Regions from separate parts of the Homo sapiens genome. Here region 1 is linked to region 2. Evidence: promoter capture Hi-C in 16 types of primary human blood cells and fetal thymus (Javierre and others, 2016). All regions are on one chromosome and are shown on one strand. Each heading gives the region's core, a stretch centred on a gene start or on the middle of the fragment in contact. The rest is flanking DNA. Distances are from core to core; before and after follow the strand shown.

Region 1 (5,807 bases), core at 3,207-5,706, 1.1 Mb before region 2:
CTCCAACTGCTGGCCTCAAGCAATCCTCCTGTCTCAGTCTCCCTAAGCACTGGGATTATAGGCATGAGCCACCACCCTGGCCTGCAATTTCAAAAAACTTTATAAACAGTCTGTTGTGTGCAAATTTTGCAATAAAGCTGACCAAAAAAAAAAAAAAAAAAAAAAAAAAACAACCCAGAAAACAAAAAACAAAAGTCTACTGCTTGCCTGGATATTTGTCTTATACTGTTAAATCATGAATCTCTGATGTTGAAAGACACAATATGCTATTTTAACTTGGACATATTAAATAAAGAAGTTTCCAAAACACCCAACTAACTATATACCGGTAATATAAAGTCCCCACTTATTGTAAGGGTGCCAAGTAAAGGAAGACCTCATGTATGAGAAAGTGTAAAGGCTTCTACATAATACAAGAAAATGCTACTTTAACATCTGAGGCCATCAAATTCTGTGCCTCTCCAGGGCTGCTGCTTCAGTGGGGTGAAAGGTACCGTTTCTCTCTTGCTACCCTCATTCGCAGCACATTCCGTATTTCTGCATCATCTCTGCATAAGCTTCCCAGGCTTCGGCAACTTGTTTGTCATCAGTGGCAGTGACATTCATCACTCTGAGGTGCTGCATGACCTTCGGGAGTGCTGTTTGCAACATCCATGCCCCCAGATGAGCAGCACCCTGGCTGAGCAGCTCCCCAATGTCGGGTGCATTTTTCTCTCAGCTCACTGCCACCCTTCACAGACACATCTAAGTGACACTGGTGGCCCCACAGGCCAGTCTCTACAGACATGCACTGCAGTCCAAGTAGATCCTGTTTCTCAGGCTGCCAAGGGCTCCTCCTCCTTTCAACCCCTCAGCTCCTAGACAGAGGTCCCCTCCCTCAAATTTGATCACATGCACCGGGCACACACCCTGCTCCACTAGGCCCAATTTTCCCCTGGGAGCCTCAGAGACACATCCCGTCACTAAAATAAGATTGAGTTCCTCAAGAATGTTATTCTCAGGTCTGTCCCACCTAACCAAATGCCTTCAGTTTTTGAATGTATTTAATGTAAAAACTCAAGCCATTTATTTGTTTAAAATACATCCCTAAGATCTCTGTCCATCTCATTACTCAATTTCTTAGTGGAGCAGTTACAACAGACAAAGTGTCCCTCGTTTCTTTTGGAGACAGCGTCTCACTCCATTACCCAGGCTGGAGTGCAGTGGCGCGATCTTGGCTCACTGCAACCTCTGCCTCCCGAGTTCAAGCAATTGTCATGCCTCAGCCTCTCAAGTAGCTGGAATTACAGGTGCATGTCACCATGCCTGGCTATGTTTTTGTATTTTGAGTACAGATGGGGTTTCCCCATGTTGGCCAGGCTGGTCTTGAACTCCTGACCTGAAGTTGATCCACCAGCCTCCGCCTCCCAAAGTGCTGGGATTACAGGCATGAGCCATGGCGCCCAGCAGCCCCTTGTTTAATGTGCTTGATAATGAGCCCTTCCTTGGTCCCCCATACTAACAGACCCTTTCACAATAGTGTGATGGTGATGAATGTGTAACACATGACCCAACTTAAGTATGATGTTGACTTTCTACTTTGGATTAAATCGGAGCCATTTAAAGCTGACTTTTGGTCCCACGAAAGAGCCCCTGTGCCTTACAAGGATCAAAATTGTAAAGGAAGGGGGAAAAGGTGGTTAAGTGTGGAAAATCCTTTCTGATCAACTTATTAAGCATCTGATCATCCAATAATGGACACTACTATGGAAAAAGCTAACCTTTGGGCTCCATCTTGGAAACAGCTGGATGTACATATAAGGACATGCCTTTTTGTTAAGTCTTGTGTTACTAATTGTCCCCCTTTTTAAGACAAAATCTACAACAAATTCATTCAACAACAGCAAAGCTACAAAGCCATCCAGGTTACCAGTTTCAGAAGACAAGCTTCAAAGCTGAACTCGCCACGTATGACCTACGTCTCACAGAACTGAAGACTACTCAAACACAGCAAGATTAATGAAGCAACGGAGATCTGTTTTGCAGTACAACGGCATTTAAACTACTGTTTCCAAATTTCTCACTTCAATAAGTTCATTTTATAAGATTAACGTCAAACTCAACTTTTATCAGCTAAAAAGAAAAGCATTAGTGATTTTTATATACCATGAGCATCATTTACTCCTCCCCACTGTTTAACAAATTTTAACTAGATAAGAATCTCCTTATGATTGATCTTTAAAAATCGCTTTTCACTTCTACATTAATATTAAACGTCGCTTATCATAACTTGATTCCAGGAATTGTATTCAAACTTAAGCCACAAAATTCAGGTTTTGTTTCAACAGCAATAGCAGTTTTTTTTAATATGCTAGTGGTCGGTCACAGAACTATTTCCACAAGTTGAACAGCTGTGTCTAGTGCAAATCTGAAGGCAGCGATGTAATTCAATTTGGACTCATTCATTAGAAACTGATTTTCAGATGCTACCACTGCAAGACTACTGGAGAAATGCAAGCTGCGCTGGAGATGGAATTGTTCGCAGCGGCACACAAGTTTTTGCGGCAAAGGAGAGAGCTCTAAAAGAGGAAATACAACTAGTTCATGTTACCATGAACCAGCGCAGTGGGACCCAGAATTACTGAATTAATAGAAAACTAAATACTTCTCTTAAGCAGCTATGATAACTTAAGAAAGTTTCCAGGGAAGCCGTTTAATGAAAGGAAACAAACAAAAAGATGATTTATTCAGTATCCTGCTCCATTTTTTTGAAAAATTGGAATTCCTACATTCCTTAATTCTTTGTACATCTACACTGTGAAAGCAACACAAACTCAAATGGAGATTGCAGCCCAAATGAACTTAAACCTGCTGTTTAACTTTCTTTTGAAGTTATACATGGAAATGAAACACACCACAGCAACTTTCATGACATCTTGCTAACGAAGTTTGGGTTTTGAAAAATGGAATGACTAGTTGACTAAAAACACACACGCGCGCACACACACACACACACACACACACACAAAACAAGGAGTTTTGAAAATAAGCACTAAGCATCTTTCCAAGGAACTCACTCATTCCAAGAAACTTCGGTTCTAACTCGCAAGCTGGCGGCTGCTGTGAGTGTCCTCTGAATGCAGCCTGGTCAATGTGTCGCCAATCCAGAAAACACACTGCCCTACCTTTGGCCGCGATCTTGCTTTCTCTAAGCATCAAAGGTACCCTCCGCTGTCATTCCTCTGGACGGCCACGCGTGTGGACACGGCCGCGGATGGATGCGTAGGACATTACCAAACAAACCCACACGCTGCACTTTACTTCTTCCCTCCTGGAGTGCCACTAGGGTCCCCGCGAGGAGGGCTGATCGGGTGCGGGGAGGCCGAGTGCACCGGGCGTGTGCTGACCAACTCGGGCCCAGTGACAGTCCTGCGACGAACTTCCACCCTCCCGCGCGGGGCGAGGGGAACGGGCTGCGGGGCCTGCTCCGAGCTCCCGGCTCGATCGGTATCCGCGACCACGACCCCCGGACGCTCTCTTTCAGGTGGGGGTGACAGCGCGCCCCGGGCCCCCGCCGCCCCGGACCCCCTCCTCACCTGTGCTGTCATTCGCCGAGAAACCGGGCGAGCTGAGTTTGGCTCTTTTGGGGTTGGGCGGTCCGTCCAGCAAGTTCTCAGCCATTTTCACCTGCTCGCGAAAACAGCCCCGGGCACGGGCGGCCGGGCCGGCGAGGGCCCGGACGGGGGTCGGGGGCCCTGCCGGCTGCGAGGGAGAGGAGCGAGCGCGGGCCGCGAGCGGGCGGGCGGGCGCCGAGGGAGAGGGAGGGCGCAGGCCGGGTGGGGGAGGCGGCGGCCAAATCTCAGCCACAGCAACAGCGCCCCGCAGCGCTCACCGCCCGCCCCCGGCCGCCGCCGCCGCCGCCGGCCGCGGCCCCCTCATCCCCTGCCCGCCTCCCGAGCGCGACACTCCGCGGTGGGGGCGCCCCGGCGGCCCGGCCGCCCCCCCGGGCCCGGCTGGCAGCGACGGCGCCCGGCCGGGCGGCTCAGGCAGTCCCCGAGAACATGGTGCCGCCGCCGCCGCCGCCTCGCTCCCCCCCCGCGCCCCACTTAATGAATTCGCTCGCGGCCCGACGACGAGGGGGCTCCGGGCTCCGCTCCCGGCCCGCGGCCCGCCGCCGCCGCCGCCGTGAGGAAAAACAATGCGCCGAGCGGGGTCGCCGCCGCCGCCGCGGCCCCCCCACCCCCCGTTCCGCCGCCGCCGCCGCCGCTGCCGCCGCCGCCGCCGCCGGGCTCCGGGAGGCCGAGCCGAGAGGCGAGCGGGGCCGCCGGGGCGGGCGCCGAGGGCCGGGCGGAGCGGGCCGGCCGGGCGGAGCGGGGTGCGCGGGCGGTTGTGGGGCCCGGGACCGGCGGGGCCGAGTAGATCGCGCTCGAAGCCCCGGTCGGGTCCGCGACAAGATGGCGGCTGTTGATTCCTCAATTAAAAAAAAAAGAAAGTTTTTTTTCTTCTCTTTCCAGAGCCTGAACGGGGAGGGGGTGGGGGCGGGGCACGCCGGTGCGTCACCCCCCCGCGGCGTCACCACGCACGGCCCCCGCCCCGCCCCCTCCACCTGCGCCGGCCGTGGCGGAAAGAGCCGAGCGTGCTCGGGCCGAAGGGCTGAAGGCGCGGCCGCCAAGCGTAGGGAAGCTGGCGGCCCGGCGCGGGCCAGGCCTGCGGGGCGCCTGGGCTCCGGGCTGAGCCACAGCTTTTGTTCTGATGGCGACCAGGCGTAGAGGGCCGGGGCTCCGGGCCCCAGCGGGCTCCGGGAGCGGCGGCCTGGCCGCGGGCTGGGCTCTCGGGCGCGGATTCGACGCCAGCCCGGGCCCGCCCGTCCCGCTGGGGCGGCGCTGCGTGTTCCCAGCTCCTCGCGTCCCCTTCCCCAGACCCTCCTAGGTGGCGTCGGTCGGGAACGGTCGGGGCGACCCCAGCCCAGGCCGCGCCACTAGCCTTCGCCGCCGGCCAGGGAAGTGGAATGGCCTCTGCAGGTTACAGACCGCCCTTGGGTCCTGCCGACGAGGTGGGCGGATGGGGAAACTGAGGCGGGGGGCGAGCAACTGCTCCAAAGTGGTCGAGGCAGGAAGTGGCAGGGCCGGGATTCGGGTCCCGCCCTACCTCGTGACACTAGGGAGTGAGGGGGCCTCACGCCTGTTCGCATCCCAAGGCGGCAGGGCAGACACCCTCACCTGTGAGAGCGGGGTGGCGAGGGCCGGCCTGGGCGGAGAAGGGCCCGCGCATCGGGGCTTAAGCCTGGACGCTCAGGCCGCACTCCCCGCCCCAGGCAACTTGCCTGGCGCCTCGCAGGTGCCCCAGACAGGGGTGCGGGCCTGGGGAGTCCCCCACGCGAGACCACAGCCCGCGGGACACTTCTACGAATACCCGAGGTGTTCCCATCCCAGTTAGTTATCTGCCCCTCCAAACTTGCCCGGCTTCCTCATAAAGGTATCAGCAGCTCCACTGTTTCCTAAGCCAGAAACCCGTGAGTCAGCGCGGACTCCTCCCTCTCACCCGCCACGCGCCCCTCTACCCACGGTCTTTACCTGGGAGACTGCTCCTCCCGCACTGTCCCGGTGGCTATGGTGGCAGCTACTCACTTAAGTGTTCTTTGCTCTCCACGTTGCTCCCCACGCAGCACCAGAGTTAACATCCCGAAAAGAGAGGGAGAAAATCTGTTTAAAACAACTCCCTGGCCAGGCGCGGTGGCAGATCACCTGAGGTCAGGAGTTCAAGACCAGCCTGGCCAACATGGTGAAACCCCATCTCTACCAAAAATACAAACATTAGCTGGGCGTGGC
Region 2 (6,304 bases), core at 263-2,762:
ACTTCTGGGAGCAAGGTTGGTCCCCTGGGAGTCCTGGGAGGGCTGAAAGGGGTTAAGTGTGAGTTAAAATGAGAGTGATGGACAAATGTCACTCTCCCAAGGGAGGCCCCCTTACTCCCTGTTTTATTTATTTATTTACTTATTTATTTTGAGACCGAGTCTTGCTTTGTTGCCCAGGCTGGAGTGCAGTGGCCAGGTAACAGCTCACTGCAGCTTTGAACTTCTGGGCTCAAGGGATCCTCCTGCCTCAGCCTCTTGAGTAGCTGGGACCACAGGCACGTGCCAACACGCCTGGCTAATTTTTTTTTTTTTTTTTTGCGACGGAGCTTTGTTCTTCTTGCCCAGGCTGGAGTGCAGTGGCGCAGTCTCGGCTCACTGCAACCTCCGCCTCCTTGATTCAAGCGATTCTCCTGCCTCAGCCTCCCGAGTAGCTGAGATTACAGGTATACGCCACCATGCCCGGCTAATTTTGTATTTTAGTAGAGACGGGGTTTCCTCATATTGGCCATGCTGTTCTCGAACTCCTGACCTCAGCTGATCTGCCTGCCTTGGCCTCTCAGTGTGCTGGGATTACAGGCGTGAGCCACCGCGCCCTGCCTAAACTAAAAAAAAATTTTTTTGTAGAGATAGGTTCTTGCTATGTTACCCAGGGTGGTCTCCAACTCCTGGGTTCAAGCGGTCCTCCCGCTTCCGCCTCCTAAAGTGTTTGGATTACAGGCGTGAGACATGGCGCCCGGCCTCTTACCTGTTTTAAATTGTCCTTTCTCTCCGCTGGCTCCTTGAGCCCCTTTCCTGCTTATTTTTCTCTCGTTAGAGTTTTTCACTACCTCACACATCATATATTTGCCTTATTTATTGAGTGTCTGTCTCCCCACCGTAGTATAAACTCCACGAGGGCAGGGATTCGTGCGTGTGGCTCACCGGCGGCTCTCCAGCGCCTGGACAGGGCTGACCCCCAGCAGGCGCTCTGTGAAGGTGTGCAGAGTGGGCGAAGGTGCATGCGCGGGCCGTGGGGCGGGGACAGGTGGAGGAGCCAGTCAGACCCAAGTGCAGCGGGACGAGGGCGAGGTTAATCTGAGCAAGAAAAGCGTAAATTCTGCTTATCTACAAATGTAAACAGTACTGTCGGCCAGACGCAGGGTCCGGGGCGGGTCGGCCCGGACTCAGGGTCTGCTTGGAGGCAGAGCTAGATTAGGGCGGGGTCGTCCTGTGGCCTACCATTCCCCGAGGCTGAGGGCCTTGGAGGGCGGGGCCAGTGAAGGGGGAGGGGACTTCCTGAGGTGTGACCAATCTAGAGAAAGGACTGGGCTGAGGGCGTGGTCAAACAAGCGACATCTAAAAATAAGGGGCGGGGCTAGAACCAGGGGGAGTTCGCCTGGGGCGGGGCCAGAGTGGGGCGGGACCAGTTAGGGGGCAGGGCCAACCTGGGCGGGGCCATGGCCGGGGACGTGGGCGGGACCAGGTCAGGGGCGGGGCCAGGCCAGGATCTCCGCTGTCCCGGGTCCTGGAGCTCTCTCGGCCCGGCAGGTTTCGCTCCCGCCCCTCCGGCCTTCCACAGCTGTCCTGGCCGCAGGGTGTTCAAGGCGGGACACACCAGGCTAGAGATCCGCGATCGGGCCCCGCCTCAGGTACTGCGCTCCAGGCCAGGCGGGCGCGGGTAAGCGCTCAGCTCCCGAGCCAGGCGGGCTTCCAGGGCACTTCCCCTAGGCTGCATTCCCAAAGGCTCCCGAGGGCGAGGGTGAGCAAAGCTGCGGGGACCTGTGTGTGCATGCGTGTGCGATTGCCTCTACGTGTGTGTACGTGTGTGTGCATGTGCGCACGGGTGTGTGTGCGTGTGTGCACGTCTGTGCACACCAGGGGAATTGCGTGCGTGGAGCTGGGCAGGTGCGTGTTTCAGGGTGTGTGTGCAAAGTTGGAGGCGTGTGCAAAAGCAGTCCCGTGTGGGAGGGAAACCTGCGTGTGTACATGTGTGTGATAGAGACAGTGCCTGTGAAATGTGGTGAAGGCTGTGTGTGTATGTCAGGGTGTCTGGGAGGAAAATGGGAGGGCAGGTGCAAGGAGACTCGGGGGTGGGCTGTAGGCCAGCAAGTCTGTGGCAAGCTGCGGGGTGCATGCGTGAATAGAACCGTGGGAGTGTAAGAATTGCAAATGTGTGTGTGTCTGTGTGGGTGGCCGTAAGGCTTCTGGGGGCCCTCAGTGTGAAGGGGTGGGGGTAGAGGAAAGTTTGGGGGTGCTGACTGCTCTTGGAAGGCTGAGCGTGGTCTGGGGCCATGGCTAATGACAGGGAAGCTGTTGGGGCTTGGCCTGGAGTAATTTGGGGGGAATATCAGCCTTCTCAATTTGAAGGCTGGGGAGCTGTGTGGGTGGGGCCAGGGGCTGCCCCTTACACTTGGTGGGTGGTGTCCCTGCTTCCCGAGGTGGGAGCTGCAACCTCACCAGTCACTCCTCGCCCCAGGCTCTGTGCACACCCCTGCCTGGTGACCTCCATTGGTGCTCCAGCGTGAACATGGTGCAAAGATACCAGTCTCCTGTCCGAGTCTACAAGTACCCGTTTGAGCTGGTCATGGCGGTGAGTGACTCCTGATTCTTGGGCCCCCATGTGACAGTTGGAGGGGCTTGAGATCAGCTATGGCGGTAGGAAGACGGAGCTCCTTAGACTCCCAGATCAGAAGGAATTAGTGAGTTACTCAGCTGACCTGGTGGGTTTAACTTCTATCCAGTGACCTCTCTGTCCAACCATCCTATCCTCGGCCCAGTGACCAAAACACAAAGTCTTTCTTCCTTCTCCTTGTTGAAGCTGACCTGCTCCCTTACTTTAGACTCTCCTGATAGAAAACAAAGGTATCAGGGGCCAAGCCACTGCTGTCATTTCATATAATGGCATATCACAGTGATAAATGGAATGGTGGTGATAATGACAACAGCTGTTTATTGAATGTTTACAGCACTGTCTTAACAGATGATGTTTCTTCCAATTCCCGATAGCTGTTATTTTCCCATGTAACCTCCATGAAACTGAGGCTTTGACAGGTGAAGGGATGACACTAAGTTCTGTATCTACGCAGAGGTGGAGTCGGGGCTGAGATCCCCACAAAGGAGACTCTAGAACCTCACATTTGACCACAGAGCCCTCCTTCTGCTCACAGACCCCCTTCCCTCCCCTTTAAGGAAGCTGACACTGGGACGAGAGAGAGAATGAGTGGGTAGGTTTGCTTTGTGATGTACTCTGTGTTGTGCAGCAAGTCAGTTGGAGGCCTAGAATTGGCTGCCAGATCCTTGGCCCCCAGGATCACTGGTCTTTTCACCCTGGGGGCAGAAGCTGGACATAGGTGGATGTGGAATTCCTTCTTGGCTGCATCCCTCTGCCTCTGAGCACTTCACTTCCCTGCTCAGTAACATGGGGACAATGCTACAAGGTTGCGGGGAGGAGTAAATGAGATAGTTCTTGGTGCTCCTTGCTGTGTGCCGGGCACACAGTAGGAGCTCACAAAATATGCTGTCGCTGTTATTACACCGAAGTCTTGTAAATTAATGTATTGAAAGTGTAAGAAACATTAGCATCCACCCCCATCTGTCCCACCCCAGCACTGACTGCTTAACCCCAGCCTTCTATCCAGGGACTTTCATATCTCTTGGTGGCTGTGTGTGCCTGTGTGTCCAGTCCTGTCTTATTCTATGAATCTACATGCGTATATGTTTATTGTCACACAGAGGATTTAAAAGCATCACCAAAATCATCCACATACCTTGTGCTGTTACAGGCAGATGGTTCTAGGACAGCAAAGAGGCAGGAACTGGCTTAGGGTCATATTCTAGCTCCCCAATTGACGAGCTGAGTGACTGTGGGGCAAGTCACTTCACCTCCATGAGCCTCCACTCCCCATCACCAATGGGAATCTCCTGGCTTCCAAATCCTGGTGTCATGCTGTGGATTAAATGAGTCAATGTGTATAAAGCTCCTGGTACGGGGCTGACGCAGATCAAATGCTCACTGAGATCCAGCTATGATCGTTACTGTTTTTGCAAGTGCCTGAGTGACTTTGCTTCTGCGTAATGGGAGTGGAACACCAGGGGATGGTGAAGAGATCCAGGGACGTGAATTCAGATGCTTTAGGGTTCTGCTGTGCTCTGCCATGCTCTGGTTGTATGTTTTTAGAAAGTTGCTGAACTTAAGCCGGGTGCAGTGGCTCACACCTGTAATCCCAGCGCTTTGGGAGGCCGAGGTGGGTGGATCACAAGGTCAGGAGATCAAGACAATCCCGTGTAACACGGTGAAACCCCAACTCAACTAAAAATACAAGAAAAATTAGCCGGGCGTGGTGGCGCGCACCTGTAGTCCCATCTACTCGGGAGGCTGAAGCAGGAGAATCTCTTGAACCCAGGAGGCAGACGTTGCAGAGAGCCGAGATTGCGCCGCAACACTCCAGCATGGGTGACAGAGCGAGACTCCGTCTCAACAACAACAACAGCAACAACAACAACAACAAAGTTGCTGAACTTTTCTGAGCCCCATTTTCTTTTACTTTTTCCAGACTGAGTCTCACTCTGTTGCCCAGACTGGAGTGCAGTGGTGCCATCTTGGCTCACTGCAACCTCTGCCTCCCAGGTTCAAGCCATTCTCGTGCCTCAGCCCCCTGAGTAGCTGAGATTACAGATGCACACCACCATGCCCAGGTAATTTTTGTATTTTCAGTATAGACGGGGTTTCATCACGTTGGCCACGCTGGTCTCGAACTGCTGACCTCAAGTGATCCACTAGCCTCGGCCTCCCAAAGTGCTGGGATTACAGGGGTGACTCACTGCATCCGGCCCCTATTCATATAGCCTTAAGTGCTATATTCATGGGCATGGCTTATTTTCAAGTGCAATGATTGTAAATATTTTCAGAACCCTAAACGTGACAAATTAAGTTGGAATTTATTAAGCACATGCAGTAGATGGTTTTCCATCCTATAGTTAATGTGTCTCAGATTCATGGCAGAGAACCATGGGTCCTTGGACTGTCAGAGAAGGGTGGGGACAGTTTCTCTCTTCTTATGAATGAATGAACAAGTGCTTGGGTCTTAGAACATGTGAGCTGCCAGAGCCTTAAACTAAGGGTGATTATTTATGTTTATCGACCACTTATTGTCACTTGGTAGGACTGGGCCCTGTGCGAGGCAAACAGACACACACACACACAATCACTTTTCATCTTCATGACAACCTTATGAGGCGCATATAGGCATACAGTCATCCCCATTTCACAAATCAAGAAAATGGGGGCTGGGTGCTTATTCATAGAATAAGACAGGACTGGACACACAGTCCTGCACTCGAGCCTGGGCAACAGAGCGAGACTCTGTCTCAAAAAAAAAAAAAAAAAGAAAAAGAAAAAAAGAAAAGAAAACAAAAACAACAGAAAAACTATATGAATAGCACTAGTAATGTACTCGCATTGCCTGTATTGGGTATGTTAAACATATTTTGTAAGCTTCAGGTTCCACAAATGAAGGCACGGCTCCATTTACTCCCTTCGCTGTTGAGTCTCTAGGTACTGACACCTGTGGGTAGAGTGAAAAAAAGGCTTTCAAATCTATATTATCTGTGGCCAGGTATGGTGGATCATGCCTGTAATCCCAACACTTTGGGAGGCTAAGGCGGGCGGACCACCTCAGGTCAGGAGTTCGAGACGAGCTTGGCCAACATGGTAAAACCTTGTCTCTACTAAAAATACAAGAATTAGCTGGGTATGGTGGCAAGCACCTGTAATCCCAGCTATTCGGGAGGCTGAGAGAGGAGAATCGCTTAAACCCGGGAGGCGGAGGTTGCAGGGAGCCGAGATCGTGCCATTGCACTCCAGCCTGGGGGAAGAGTGAAACTCTGTCTCAAAAAAAAAAAAAAAAAAAAAACTTCCTTATCTGTACCTGCGTTAATTTAAGTCATTTGTATTTTCCAGAGGGACTGCCACAACCCTGTCATTCTATCTTCCATACAGTCCTTGTCTGTGAAATGGTCCCAAGCCACAGCAACACTGCCAACAAAGCCACTTTGCCGACTGTTTACAAAACATTATTGTCCCCAAAATAGCTGCATAACTCAACGTAACTTGCACACTGTGGAAGCACAAAAGGGGTTTTCTATGCTTAATGTTCGTCTTTGTTTCGCAGTTAAACACTTGCCCTCAGATTGGGTCAGATGCCGGGGAAGTTTCAGATGAACTCAGCTATTTTCACTGCATCCGAGTGACCAGAAAAGCTGGCCTTTCAGTTTTTCTGTTTAACAAAACTGACTTCAGAATCAAAATGCTCCTAGCTTCTTCAAA

The links. Contacts are between HindIII fragments. The CHiCAGO score rates a contact against its expected background, and 5 or more counts as called.
Region 1: the fragment with the promoter of CREBBP here is called in contact with the fragment with the promoter of SEC14L5 in region 2 in 3 of 17 cell types (naive B cells, total CD4 T cells and naive CD8 T cells); the score reaches 8.8 in naive B cells.

What each region holds. Positions count from the first base shown.
Region 1 is chr16:3,876,257-3,882,063 of GRCh38, forward strand. It overlaps CREBBP (CREB binding lysine acetyltransferase), which reads right to left and starts at 4,457. Exons shown (of 31, transcript NM_004380.3): 1 at 3,576-4,457. The coding sequence starts at 3,660. RefSeq lists silencers at 3,446-3,495, 3,576-3,625, 3,666-3,975, 4,313-4,362, 4,383-4,932 and an enhancer at 4,136-4,712. The HindIII fragment of the contact is 11,013 bases long and covers 1,925-5,807 here.
Region 2 is chr16:4,956,818-4,963,121 of GRCh38, forward strand. It overlaps SEC14L5 (SEC14 like lipid binding 5), which reads left to right and starts at 1,513. Exons shown (of 16, transcript NM_014692.2): 1 at 1,513-1,628; 2 at 2,456-2,569. The coding sequence starts at 2,507. RefSeq lists silencers at 1,398-1,607, 1,406-1,701 and an enhancer at 1,505-2,040. The HindIII fragment of the contact is 6,723 bases long and covers 1-5,471 here.